Linked DNA regions of Homo sapiens: region 1 is linked to region 2. Evidence: promoter capture Hi-C in human tissues and cell types (Jung and others, 2019). All regions are on one chromosome and are shown on one strand. Each heading gives the region's core, a stretch centred on a gene start or on the middle of the fragment in contact. The rest is flanking DNA. Distances are from core to core; before and after follow the strand shown.

Evidence for each region. Contacts are between HindIII fragments. The study calls those that stand out against the background at their distance.
Region 1: a contact is called between a fragment that was not itself captured here and the fragment with the promoter of ADAMTSL3 in region 2, in 1 of the 25 tissues and cell types used here (mesendoderm cells).

Annotation. Positions count from the first base shown.
Region 1 is chr15:84,051,095-84,058,562 of GRCh38, reverse strand. It overlaps the pseudogene LOC642677. Among named protein-coding and RNA genes, the nearest start is that of GOLGA6L4, 180 kb to the left of the region's middle. The HindIII fragment of the contact is 6,643 bases long and covers 1-5,835 here.
Region 2 is chr15:83,648,343-83,655,807 of GRCh38, reverse strand. ADAMTSL3 (ADAMTS like 3) reads right to left here and starts at 1,685. Exons shown (of 30, transcript NM_207517.3): 1 at 1,532-1,685; 2 at 1-79. The coding sequence starts at 46. RefSeq lists an enhancer at 3,047-3,216. The HindIII fragment of the contact is 6,298 bases long and covers 808-7,105 here.

The sequences.
Region 1 (7,468 bases), core at 1,265-3,764, 400 kb before region 2:
CAAAATCATAAATGTGTATGAATCCTTTAGAAACCTGAGATCACAGGTTAACCAATTAGCCTGACATTAAGGAAAAACAACTTCCACCCAGTTGAGACAGGAGGCAAGCACTGTTTCACCCAAAGCAGGGCATGGAATGAAGACTAGCTGTTACAAAAGTGGATAAAATAATTCATTTACATCTTTAGTTGCTAAAGACTTGAGTGTGAACTACTGTGAGAGTATAGAAGCTCTGAGAACTTCAGACACTAAAGGGGGAGTTCAAAACCACTCATAGACTCTTCCCTATGGATGTTCACTCTGTGATCATCAGAAAGATTGGGAGAAAGGCTGGAGGCCACAGAAAGTTTCCTTTGTAGTGCGGGCATGGAGAGAAGAATGGTTGTTGTTGCGAAAGAAAAAAATAGCAGGAAGCTCCATTTGAATGACTCTAACCTACAGAACAAAAGCATTAATCCACTGCGGGAGAGACATCACTCTGACAACCCCAATGAATAGCTGAAGATGTATTGTACCTTGAGGAAAGATAAAGGAAAAACAACAACAAGAAGCAAAATAAAACCAAACCTTGAACATGAAGAAAGAACAGGAAACTGTCTCGGGACCAACAATTAGAGACCTACTACATCAAGTGAAGGAGCAGGTGCACTGAGAGAGCCCTGCTTCTGAGGCCCGGGGGCACAGGGACTGCCTAAGACTGAAGCTGAACCAGGACAACAGAGAAACCACCACACACTCACCCTCCATTTCCCAAACACAAAATTCTAAATGTGTATGCCCTTAACACTTGAGCTTCAAATACACAAAACATAAACTTATAGTACTAACATAAGAAATGTAAAAACATGCATTTGTAGTTGGAGACTTCAACACTCTCTTTAAGTAATCTATAGAATATAGACAGGAAATGAATAAGGATATAAAGACCTGAAAAACACTATCAACAGTTGTCCAAATTGACATTTGCAAAGCACTTCTGTCAACAATAACAGAATACACATTCTTTTCAAGTGCACATGAAATGTTCATTCAGATAAACTATATTCGGAGCCATAAAACAAACCTTAACAAATATAAAAGAATTGAAAGCATGCAATGTGTGGTTTTGATCATAACAGAATTGAATTAAACATCAATAATAGAAAAAAAGTGGGAAAATCCCCCAATATTTGGAAATTACACAGCAAATTTCTAAATAACGAATGGTTTTAAGCAAAAGTAAAAGAAATTAGAAAGTATTTTGAATTTAATGAAAATATAGTATACCAAAATCTGAGAGATGCATCTAAAGCAATACTTTGAGGAAAATTTATAGCATTTAAGGTTCATATTAGAAAAGAAAGTCTTAAATCAACAGTCTAAACCTTCATTGTATGAAACTAGAAAAATAAGAGCAAATTAAATCCAAAGCAAAGTAGAAGGAAATAAATGAGGATAACAGCAGCAATCAATAAATTTGAAAACAGAAAAACAATGAAACCAAAAATTGGTTCTATTAAAAGATAATAAAGTTGATAAACCAAAAGAGAGAAGACACCAATTACAAATATCAAGAATGAAAGAGAATAGCACTACAGACCTTATAGACGTTTATTTTACATTGTGGCCTCTTCTTTTTTCTTTTTCTTATTTTTGACAATTTTATCAGGTTGCCATTCATTCCATGTTTGCTTCAAGAAGGAAGACATTAATATTTAGAAGGTAATATCAACAGTATTTGAAAACTACTTGAAAAGGAGAGAAGGAAATGAGGGAGAAAAAGTCAATTAAACGGAACCTTAGCCTGACTTGCCAAATTCACAACAGAAACTTTGTAGGTATGTTATTTTCTGGGGAACGTGAGTCTGAGTGAGATAATTAATTGGGGCATGCTAAGTTTTCATTTATCTGAGGGACATCCAAATAAAGATGTCTAGTAGGTGGATAAATATGTGGGTTGGTGTTTGAAGGGAGGTCTGAAGTAGAGATTCAAGTTTGGGAGTCACCACCTTACAGGTAGTATTAAAACCATGGGAGTAGATTGGTGATATGTAGATTGAAAAAGCTGAGGCCAAGGATGATGTCCCCTGACTTTCTAAAAGTAGTTTCCAATTCCTTGGTACCACAAGACACCACAGGGAGCAGTCCCAAGTACCAGGAAAAAGAGCTAGCATAAGCAACTCAAGACTTTTGTCCTCAAAGAAGAACCTAGAACAGCTCACTATATTAAAATGGGGTTGGAGCTGTGTATACAAATAGTGGGCAAGTGCATTCAGACACTTCTTGGACTTAAACCTGTTCAGAAGAGAATAAACTTTCTATCCAGATTTTAGTGGCTAGACATAAAAAGTGAGCTGAGGAAACATCTAACAAGGGCAATAGTGGAGCTGCCACATAACCAAACTGTATTTTTAGACGTGGACAGCATTGTTTGTTTTCTTGTTTGTTTTTTCCATAAGTATCATAAAACACTAAAAACAGATGATAAAGATTATGATGTTTTAAAGATGCTGCTAGAATGTTATCAAATATTCCATAACAGATAATAAATATTCCAGGCATATGAGCATAGGCATATTTATAGGGAGAAAATCAATTTTCTGCAATTATGTAGAACTTACATTCATACTATTGTATGCTATCACATCCATCTCTCAGTGTCCAAATTCTTGCTTCCATTTTGAAAACCAAAGCTGGTTTGGTGAGGGAGAAATATTCTCTTCTGTTTACTCTCTTATAATGAAAATCTTTTTTCTCTTGTGTGGTAGCAAGAATTCTCCCTATATGATTGTGTGGAACTATAAACCTTCGATAACATCTCTGATTCCTTTTAGTTAGTGAAAAATAGTGTTATACTTTTATACTTTAGTCTGCAAAGAAGAGAGATTCCCTCATGATACCTCAAGAAAAAAAGGCTCTGGTAAAGCTTCATGTGAACTGAAAATGGAAAGCTATCAGGTGCCCAGGGAGCTTGAAGGAAGAGCTTTTCCCTTCATCTCCGCAATGAGCTACATGATTTCTCTCACAGCATCTTCACTTCCCTTCACTCATCTGCTCTGATTGCTGCTTTACTAACTGGCCACCTCTGCCTAGTTATCATTTCTGTTTCTTTAAAGGTCTGTTTTGAATGTAACTTCAGCTTTCCATAGTTCTTCAGCTCTACTTCCTGGCATCCTTTTCAATTCTCCCATTTCTATCTCACTCATTATTTTCAATTTTAGGTTTACAAGAATAAGAATGCTTGATCTAGCTCATCTTTTCTGTCAGTTTGTCTTAAAGGTCTCTGCTAGCCTAAAGGTCGCCTATTCTTGAGTCAGGTGCAGTCTCTCATCCAGACATCAGTAACTTAATCATTTAGTCCAAAACTTGGCCATTTTGGCAAAAATGGCTAAGCATTTTTTCTCTTCAAAGAAGATATCCACATAATAAGTTTTCAAAGTTTGGCCTTTCCTGTAAATATTGCATAGACTTTAGTCCAGATTTTAGTACGTTATCTTGTGTAATAAATTTCTACCTTTTATAAATTAACTTTTGGTATTTAGAAATATATATTTTGGCGTGAAGTCTATTCTATGATATTTCCTAGCTTACTATCTTCCTCATGGAGAAATAGAAAACACAAATAATCCTTAGTTGAAATATAAACATTTTAGTTTTAGTGAAGTGTACCATTACCAACTTGTAATGGTGTTACAAGTCATCATTCTGTATACACTAGCGTGACCCAAAATGCTCCACAGTCTAGGTAAACTACAGGAAGTAAGCTTAAGGTTATTTAACTTCCAAACCCCAGATCTCTGCTCTGATGGTCACTTGAAATTCTACAATTTCAAACACCTCTGAAGACATTCAGTTAAGGCCTCTGGCCTCTAGATGGCCCTCTATCTTTTGGGAATGCCTTAAAGTCCATTTCATGAGGGAAAGTTGAAGCCAGTGATCTTTCTGGGATAGCACAAGTTACCCTGTATCTTTGCTCAAGGAATTCTTTCTGTAGGCTTCCTAGAGGATACCAGAATTAAATTTTTCTCCCCTTTGAAGAGTCTCTCCAAAGCAAGGAGTAATACCTGTATTACTTTTGCCCACCCATGAAGGGCACTTGATTTTATTTCAAGCCCTGGCTTTTAGACGTACCTTAGCATTTTGTGAGTTGTAATTAAAATCCCAACCTCTTCCTAGGAATACAACCATAATCTCCTAAACTCTGTCCTCACCTCCAACACAGTCCTTTTGGCTTTCAAGAACTATCCACAATCAGGCTCAGATGTGCTTTTCCTTTGTTATGTAATCAGATGAATCTGAAAGTGGAAAGTTACATGTATTAAAGTGAGGAGATGGGTAGAGGAAGGTGGAAATGAAGAAAAAGAACAAATCTGAAAGGAATCAGAGAAACTGTATTCTGATACTATTGTTTAGATTTCTAAAGGAAATGGAAAGATGTTTGGCAATGAGAGAAGTCAGTTATGATTTTTAGAAGATGGTTGTTTTCTTCAGCATTTAAAACTGTTTTTGCTTTGATATAATTTTGAAGACGATTATAAAGCTTGGGACCTTCGTAAAAGTGAACTTTATAAGCCAGAACGAACTTACCACCCCCCTACTGTGAAATTTGGAAATTCAACTACATTCCAGGATGACTTTGTTCCTCAGGAGATAAAGCCTAGGCAAAGCTTTAAACCCTTCTCTGTGGTCAAACGTTCTACAGCCCCTTTTAATGGTATTACAAGTAATCGCCTTGATTATATACCTCATCAGCTTGAACTCAAGTTTGAAAGGCCAAAAGAAGTTTACAAACCAACTGACCAACGCTTTGAGGATTTCACAACTCACCGGTATGACTTTTGGGGTCTTATTTGGTGAAACTGCAAAACTCTGCAGACCTGTACACACCAGAGTGACCCAGAATGCTCGGTTTGAAGGAAGCACTGAATTCCGTGAAAGTTTTCAACCATGGGAAATCCCACGACCGGAGGTCAAGAAAGTACCAGAGTATGTGCCTCCTACAGGTAGCATGCTGTTAAACAGCACAAGCCATCTTGACTATGTTCCGTATCAGGCCAACCGTGTTGTTCCCATCAGGCCAGTTTCTCGTAGAAGAAGTAACAGTTTTCCTTTCCAAGGAAAAAGCACCATGAAAGATTTTCCAGCATGGGAAAGTTGTCGTCAAGGACTTATTAAGAAGCAGCAGCAGATTCCCAACCCATCTGGAAAATTTGATGGTTTGAGCACTTTCAGATCTCACTATTTGCAACATGAATTGATTCCAACAGAGAGTTGCAAACCTTTAAATATTGCTTTTAAGAGTTCTGTTCCATTTGATGATGTAACCATGTACTCTGTAGAGTACACACCGAAAAAACAGGAAATTTGCCCAGCTAGCTATCCCTCTCCTCCAGGTTATATTTTTGAAAATACAAATTCCCAAGGTCATAAATTCTTCTGCAAGATTACTCCCGCAGTGAAGGCCTTCTAATAACCAAATTGTGCTTAAAAGGAAGCTACTAATAAGTTGTTGGTTTTCCAAGAGAAAACTCAATTTTTGTAGTGAAAAAAATTTATGATATAATAAATCTTTTTTGTTTGTTTGTTTTTGAGAGGGAGTCTCGCTCTGTTGCCCAGGCTGGAGTGCAGTGGTGCAATCTCAGCTCACTGCAAGCTCCGCCTCCTGGGTTCATGCCATTCTTCTGCCTCAGCCTCCCGAGTAGCTGGGACTACAGGTGCCCGCCACCACACACGGCTAATTTTTTGTATTTTTAGTAGAGATGGGGTTTCACTGTGTTAGCCAGGATGGTCTCAATCTCCTGACCTCGTGATCTGCCCGCCTTGGCCTCCCAAAGTGCTGGGTTAACAGGCATGAGCCACTGCACCCGGCCGATATAATAAATCATTTTTTATATTTTTAAACAAGAAAATTGGAAAATGTATCATAAATCAGAATCTTAAAACCATTTTGTATTGATATTTTAACCAAGATTGTTCTTTAATATGCATTTTGGAAGGTTGAATAATATAGATTCCCATACGTACCATTTTAATACTCAACATACTGCTTAGTAGCTTGTCCCCAGTCTATCATTTGTAATTCTGTTTATAATTATGGCAATTGTATGGTTATTCACATAGCAGCTGTCATTTATCAAGCACATCAGGATTATCTAGAACAACATTGAAAATGATACATGGATTCCTCTTCCAAGGCAACAGGATTCATTTTACTCAGACTTCACGGCATCTACATAGCATCCACTGAGTCAAGTTTTGGTTGGTGGTATACAGACTGCTGCACTGCTCCTCACCATGTTCAAGTTAGTAAGAGCCATTGTGGTGTGGCAAGGAAAGGCTCTGTGTGCTGGGAATCGAAGGACTTGAGTTCAAGTTCTGACTAATAATTATTATTATTTTTAGAGACAGGGTCTCACTGTCACCCATGCTGGAGTCCAGTGGCATGATCATGGCTTACTGCAGCCTCAGCCTCCTGAGCTCAAGTGATCCTCCTGCCTCAGCCTCCCAAGTAGCTGGGACTACAAGGGTGTGCCACCACACCCAGCTATTTTTTTAATATACTTTGTAGAGATAGGTTCTTGCTATATTGGCCAGGCTGCTTTTGAATCCTGCCTTGGCTTCCCAAAGCAGTGGGATTACAGGCATGAGACACTATACCCAGCCTAAGTTCAAGTTCTAATAATATAGATTTCTATTTGTACTACCTTAGGCAGTGACTCATATCTCTGAGACTCAGTGTCTTTGTTTGTAAAATGATGTCTGTTTTCAAAAACGTTTGTTTTGAGCATCAGACTATATGGTACATTTTAATCCTTAAAGTAAAAGTATAAATGTAGGGGATTGTTAAAAAAAATCACTCAGTCTCTTTTTGTACTTGTTTTCTCCTTTTCAAATTAGGATAATTACTTACCCAATCCTCATTTTCTGGCCTGTATCAAGGATTGTAAAATAACCTAATTTGTTTTGAGCTATGAGTAGTATGTGAGGAGTCTTGTCCTTTAAAACTTCATGAGCACCTGAGAAATTCTTAACAGAGAATGGAAAGCTTGGAATGGGGTAAATACAGTGGTTTGAATAACAGTATTTGCAGAAAGGAAAAAGTATTATTTGCTAGGGTAGTTTTAGGAAGACTGACAGCTCTGAAGAAATCTTTAGGGTAAATGTAGGTAATTTTGCACCTAATTGCCAGGCCAAGTCACTGTTTAGAGGAAGAACCAGCCCCAGCAGGGGGCATAATCACCTGGTTCACCTCTTCCGGTGTGAAGATAAGTGATAAGGTAAAGAATGATGCCAGTAAGTATAGTAGAAACACTCTATTGCATTTATAAATGCTAAAAATTTCTGAATGAATTAAACTCTTATTGGGTGGTTTCTTTTTTTAAAAAAATTAAATAATTGCATTATGGGAGAATATGATTTATTTTAGCATAAAGTGAATTTTAGTCTTTTATGGCTTCAGAATTATTTTAAAATGTATTTTATTGAAAAT
Region 2 (7,465 bases), core at 436-2,935:
AGACCATCCCTATCAGCACCCACCAGGGGCTCGTCCAGGAAGCCATGGGGTCTAGTCTCCTCCGGGTCTCAGTTGTAGCCTACAAACGAGGAAAGAGTTCATTACCAACCAGCTCTGGCCCCCATGGCAGTAAACCGTGACTTAAGCGACCCATTAGATGGAGGGACCCTGAAGCCCATATACTATTTTGGAAAGGTTTGTGTTGGCCCAGGTTGCCGCTGCCTACTGCAGGGTGCAGGCTAACTGGGCTCCCTTTAGAAGGTCCACAACAAAGTCAGGCGAGGGCTGGACCTGTCTCCAGTGGGCATCTCATACCTCCAGCTCTTCAGAAGCTGAGATATCCCTGCCCAAGCCTATCTGTCAGCAGCAGGGTGTCGCTATTGGCATTTGACTCAGGAAGCCAGCACAGAGCCAAGGTTTAGGCTAGCTTCTGCTGCTCGCGGCAAAAATGAGTCTAAGACAACAAAGCCGCCCAGAGAGGGAAAGGACCTGCCTAAGGTCACACAGCAAGATAGTGACATTTTAGGGCTGAAACGCAGATCTTCTGATAGTTCAAGGCTTTCCTCGCTAGATGACACCGTGCGCCCTCGAGGTCCGGGACCCACACCCAGAGAGACGCCTGAGAGCTAAGTTCAGGGAGGTTTGGAGGACACAGCCCCTGAGCCAGCCTAACACAATCTCCTAAAAGTAGGTGAGGGCCAGCCAGCAGAGGTCAGCTGAAACCAGGAGGGAAGCGGGGACTTTTTCCCTTACTTTTCCTGTCAATTTACAGGGAAATCAGTATGAGTCGAGACTGGAAAAGCCGAGGTCACACTCGACTCCCGCTTCGCCTCGCGGGCGCCTTGGCGGAGCTGGTGTCCGGGGGCGGGTCGGTGGCTTCTCTCCATCTGGAGAAGGCATTAAGGGCCTGGTCTAATGTGATCCGCAAATGTGCTGCTGTTTCCGACCTGAGGCGGCGACTCCTGGCTGAAGGGAGGCGGCCAGTGCGGGGCCCTGGGACTCTGCGCCACCCTCGCCTGCTCGCACCAGCCTTCCGAGTGCACACTCCTCCGACTACCCGCTGCCTCGAAGTCGCTCCTCCAGTGCCTCCGCCGCGTCCCGGTCACCCCCACGCCCACTTTCCACGATCGCGCGTCGCCTCAACCCCCGGCGTTCTGGGCGCTCGCTACCCAGTGGTCAACCGGCCGGACCTTCGGACCCGCGAGGTTTCTGCTTAGTAACTCCCAATCCTGAAAAACTCCAACCCTGTGGAGTTCCCCCATAATCAAGAACGCCCCTCAGCCCGCGAACTGCCGCCGAAAGACTCTCCCTGAACCTTCCGGGACGGCACGAAGCGCGCCCGACCCGAGGTGCCCAGCAGTGAGGAGCACCCCAGTCCTGAGGCCCCCTGGGGCCCGCGTGGCACGCCCCGACTCTGCTTGGAGACCCCCAACTTGCTTAGAGAGGCCACTGCTCCAAGTCTTACTCCCTCTGGGGAGCGCCTTCCCCCGACCCCTGAGGGGCCGCCCTGCGCCGAGCTCGGTGCACCCACCTTGCGCCGCAGAAGTATCTGGGACGTGCAGCCCCGGGGCCGCGCGGGCTCGGCGCGCGCTGGGGAGAAGTTGGCAGAAGCCGCCCGTCAACACCTCGTGCGGAATCCGGCACCAGGACCTTCCCCGACGCCGGCCTCCAGCCCGCGGCGCCGCAGTCGCCGCCGCCGCCGCGAAGTTAAATGGGGCTGGGACGGGGGCTGCCCCGCCTCTCCCGCCCCCTCCGGGCGCGCAGAGCGCTGCGCTGGCCCCGGCCCAGAGGCGGAGGGCGCGCGCCGCCACCTGCACCGCCCGGCAAGTGCACGGCGCGCCCAGGCGCCCGTCAGCCTGCGCGCCGGCACCGCGCCCTCGGCTTGAGCTGGAGGCGCCGGGGGCGCGAAGAGACGCCGTGTGGGGCCAGGCCCGGGCCGCTCGGAGCGCGCGGGGCCGCGGCGACGGCGGGACTCGGCTGGAACGCTCCTCCGCCCGCTTCCTGGAAGCCACTCCTCGCCCTGGGCCGGCCGCCAGGCGTTGTGCCAAGAGCCGGGATTGCCGACGCCGCCACCGCCGCCGCCGGCAGGCGCACTGGGGAAAGGCGGCCGCTGCGCCGCAAGCCAGCCTGGCCGCCCCGCCTCAGCCGGAGCCGGAGCAGGGATGCCGTCGCTCCCCCCGAGCCCACCCCCGGCCCCACCTCCCATAGCCTCCACCCACCCCGCCCAGACCCGGGCGCCAGCTCTGCAAAGTCAGGCCCAGCAGCCACACAGAGGTTTGCCCGGAACCGCTGGCTCGTGCCTAAGAGCCATAGGCACTCCTGGCCAGGCAGGACCATAGTGGAGACCAATGGCCCTCTCCTGGCCTGCGCCTCCTCCGCGCAGCATAGACGCCACACAAGGGACTGTGGAGCGCTCACTGCCCAGAGGCCTGGGACCTTTGGCAGCCAGGGACCACGAGGATCTTGCAGGAGCGCCTCTTAACTGGGTACCTGGCGCCTCCTTGTCTGAGCCGGGCTTGGGGAACTGAGAGCTCCACAGGTGCCAGAATCATGCCGTGTCCAGGCCTGGGATTTGGGGTTGGGGGGAAGAGTGTCGCGGACAAGAGACTGGGGTGAGTTGCCTGTGTACTTCTGGAGGTGAGGAGAAGTAAAAGGAAATGTTTGTCCCTGTCCTTGTCCTAGTCCCAGCAGGATAAGCCAAGGGCCAGGAGATTGATCTTAAAGGCTGCATTATGCCCCCACCTAAGTCCTACCACAGTCGCCATTTCCTTGGGTGTCTGTCGAGTACCAAGCTCTTTGTGTCTATCTGATCTTCACAGCAGCAGTAGTTCGAGCATTATCCCATTTCACCTAGGATAAATCTGAGGCTGGGAGGATAACTTGCCCACCATGAGTGGAGAAGCCAGGACTGGAACCCCTATCTGCCTCTCTCTAGAGCCTGGACTGTTCACCCCTAAAGTTGTTCTCCTGCCTTCTCTGTGGTTGCTGCGTTCCGGTTACTGCTAGAGCTTTGCCAAGAGCAATTGGCCCTGCCTGCTTTCCTCACTCATTCTTCCCTTACTTACTCTGGTGACTTCCTCTGACCAAGAAGAGGATCTTCAAGGCTGTCTCTCCACTCTATGTAAAATGATTGGACTTGTGGCAAGTGAGCAGAGGACAGGTCAGTGTGGAGACAGGAGAGGTAAGAGTAGCCAGTGAAGGGTAGGGAGGGCTGGGCTAAACTAGAACTAACTCATCTATGGACAATCGATCCTTTTTATTTACTGTAGTTGTGGTCTATAAAGTCACAGAACAACGAATTTGTGAATATGGAGCCATTGTTCCTAGGGGAAATATAGAGTTGGGTTCCTGCAAGCTCACAATATTTTTGTCAATCAATCAACACATTGCCTTATTTTATGCATGTTTCTGTTTAAAGACGCCTTACTTAACATCTATTGTTGATTCCTGAACACTGAGCTCACAGCCTACAGTGCTGTAACTCATGCCTGAATGAAGCTTATCTAACTTACGTATTTTCTCTGCAACACACATCCCAGCCTTCTTCCACTTAGGAACGCTAGACTTCACTTCAGCACTGTGCCTGGGGGGTGCTTTAAGCAGCAAAATCATCAAAAAAAAGACCAAAAAAATGTGAAAACATGGCAATGAAGAGAACTTTTGGGCCACTCATTTACAGTGTGAAAGCTGAAACAAGAAGACAGAGGGTTGACTGGTTGGACCTTAGCTTCCAACATGTGTCTCAAGAGACTCAAAACGTTCAGCACTGGTTCAATGACTTTGAAAGTGCTGCAGCTATTGATTATGAGGTGTTAAAATAAAAACTTTAGACAAATTTAACAGAGGTTAATTGAGCAAAGAACAATTTGAAAATAGGGCAGCCCCCCTCAGCCCCAAAACAAAATAGATTCAGAGCAACTCTGGGGCTTCCACATAGTCAGATAATATTTATGGATAGAAAACGGAATATGATGAACAGAAAACGGAAATGAGGTACAGAAACAGCTGGATTGGTTACAGCTCGGCATTTGCCTTATTTAAACATGGTTTAAACAGTTGACCGCCTGTGATTGGCCAAAACTCTGTGACTGCTTCAAGAGTAGGTTACAGTCTGTTTACACATCATCAGGTTACAGTTTACTATGTACAGAGAGACCTTTAGGCCGAACTTAAAATATGTAAGAAGGCAACTTTAGGCTAAACTTAATTTAACGGAGGTGACAAATAAATTTTACCCAGTAGCTGAATTCACAATAAGGAATCTGCAAATAATGAGAATTGATTTTTCGTGCTTCTCATATCAGAGTATCAGTAAAGGAATAGCCACATTAACATTCAAAACACTTAGGATGTGGCAGGCACTGTTCCAGATACTTTGCTTATACCGAGTCATCCCATCATCACAACAGCCTATGGGGTAGATATTATTTTTATTCCCATTTTGCAAATGAGGAAACTGAAGTGGAAAGGTTTAAATACCTCATGTTCTTAGCAACTAGACGATACCACTCCTCATCGTTCATATTCTAAAACTAGCCCCACCATATCATGGAGTCAAATGCAAAAAAGTCACATGAATATGCAAGATGAAATGGAGAATTCAAAGAAATATTATGCTTGTGCAGTGGTGGCTGCATTAAGCAGAGCTCCCGGTGTCTGCAACTCAAGAAGTCACTGAGAATGCCTCTGGAGTTGGGGGACTTTGCTGGGAACATTTGAGATGCACTGCTCTGTTTTAAGGTATTAATGGCTCAGCAGGACTTCCTGTCTCATCTCCCTTGGGCAATCTGACTCCTGAGCCAGCCTCCAAGGAGTGCCCCACACCAAGTACTAAGACCAGGACTGAGCCTTTCTCTCCCACAGGTTCCATCTAGCAGGAGGCCAGCCCCCTCAAAGAGCAGGTGTTCCAGTAGCGAAAAGTAGTAGAGAAAACATCACCAATACCTTTATAGAACTTTTGCCTTCCAGTTAACCCTAGCAGGTCAAGCAAACCTGTGTGAGTGGCCAAGGTACTGTAAGTTAGGACAACAAAGAGCTGCAGAGGACAGCCTCCACTGGGGGTGCTGGCTGGACTTCACAGATGTTATGCGCAGAATCATGGCCTCACCACCCCTCAGTCACCTCTTCCCTCACCCCTTCCCTCAGTCACTCACCCACACTTCCCTCCCATCCTTACTTCCTCACCTGAGGCTTGGCCCAAATGTTTAAATAAGACATTGCCAAAGGCATGGTGTGGTGGGAGATCAGGAATTGGGAAGAACAGGAATGAATAAACCCCAAAGCAGCTAATCTGGCTGATTTGGCTGTTGAGTGTAGCCACCTACCCAATCACTATCTGGGGAGGTTCAGGCCCCTCCCTGCCTACTTCCTGGACTTCCTCCCTGTGAGAACACCCACCACCTGGGGACAATGGCAATGCATTTAGACTCTGAAGGGTCGAGGAAACTGAGTTCCATTTCCTCCCTAAGATCCAACTTCTTGGCTTCCTGGCTTTCACTACCTGTCTCAGGACCTGCTTCTTCCTAGATGAATTTCAGAGATTCCTGCCCGCGCTCCCAGCTTTGCCTGCTCCCAGCTTTGCCTGTTGACCTCAACCCAACAAGCACACAGTACAACATTCACGTGAGAGATACACATTGAAGATCAGGAAAGGAACTATTGATGATGGTGGTGTTGGGGTGTGTTTAGGTTTTACCCTTAGAGACAAGGAATATCAATTCAGGCATCAGCCTTAATTTGTTCTTGAAACAGAAATGCTCTTTCTGGTTACAGAGTTGTGAAGTGGGCTTGGGAAGCACACTCAAGAACGCTGTGTTGGAGGCTTGGAGAAAAAGAGTACTTGGAGGCAAGTACTCCAATAGAAGTTACCATTGACTGCAGCAGACACCAAAGATACACTCTCAGCCAAGGCCACTAAGAGATAACACATCTGGGGCCAGGTGCGGTGGCTCATGTCTGTAATCCCAACACTTTGGGAGGCCGAGGCGGGCAGATCATTTGAAGTCAGGAGTTCGAACCCAGCCTGGCCAACATGGTGAAACCCCATCTTTGCTAAAAAATACAAAAATTAGCCAGACATGGTGGCGTGCACATGTAGTCCCAGCTACACGGGTGGCTGAAGCAGGAGAATCACTTGAACTGGGAGGCAGAGGTTGCAGTGAGCTGAGATCACACCACTGCACTGCAGCCTGGGCAACAGAACGAGACTCTATCTCAAAAAAAAAAAAAAGAACACATCTGGATGTTAGGTGAACATAGTGCCTTAGGGGCACAAAATTAGCTAGCGAGTGTTCTTCAGGAAAAACCTATGAAGGAGTGAGGGAAGCAGGATAGGTAAGGCGCAAGACTAGAGCAAGCTGTGACTGAGGTCAAGCCTAACCTTCATGTGATCCTCGGGGATCCTGGAACAGAAACCACACCATAGATTTGCCGTGACTTGAAGCACCAGGACCAACTGCTGACCCGGGTGCCAGTAAGTCACTGCCTCCACTGGAGCTGGGTGGTGGTATATGGTGGTATAACCTCCAAGGTGGCTCCCTGTGGCCAAGGACAATGCTCCAGGAATGTATCAGCTGTAAGCCTTTAGCTGCTGCACCAAATATATGCTGGGGATAGGTGTGCCTGCTGGTAAAGAAATCGGACAGGGCATCCTCTCCAACGGCATCTACCATGCCTGGTTTTCAGGACGTATCCCTAGTCCCACACAGGAAATATGCTCAGCTAGCACTGATGGTTTTCTGACCAGAGTGGGTCCTTCTTTTGAATAGAAATTTGCTTTATAAAATTTGTTCAAGTCTTTATCCAGTTGCTCATAAGCAAGAACAGCCCTTGGGAGGGAAGTGTAGTGACAGGAAGTGTTTCTGCTGAGTGAGGGGCTCTGTGTGCTTTGGCAGAGCCTCACTTTTGGGTTTTCCCCTCAGCCTGCACTTAGATCCCCAGGTCTTCATGAGTCTTAGAGGTGCCAGGTCTGCGATTTCAAGTCAGGAGCTTAGGAATTAGTACTGCTGCAGCACTGGAGGTCTGAGCCTATCAGAATCTCTGTCAGGAGGGCGAAGGTGGTGTTGGACGATCTCTTTCTAGAAAGTCCCCAGTCTTTAGGGTGGGGCAGGGGGAGCTAGAGTCCCCTAAAGTTCTGTGAAGGATAGCGTTGGGAATTGTTGAGCCTTCCCAGGACCAGCAAACTCTCCAGACCCCAAATCCGAGGACAATTCCCCTCTGGCCTTCAGGGCTAGGAAGGTGCTGATAAGCATGCGTGTGTACACCTGCCCATCTCTAGGTAGATTCCACTGTGGAACATGAGCAGAGCACAAATACTCTGGGGAGAATAGGTTGGCTAGTGCCTTGGGACTCATCTCACTCTGCCCTTCACAAGAACCTTATCTTCCCCTTAGAGGTGCAAGGCAAGTGTAGAGAGTACTGGAACTATAGTCGGGAAATCCAGTTCCAGTGTGGGCGTGGCCACAGA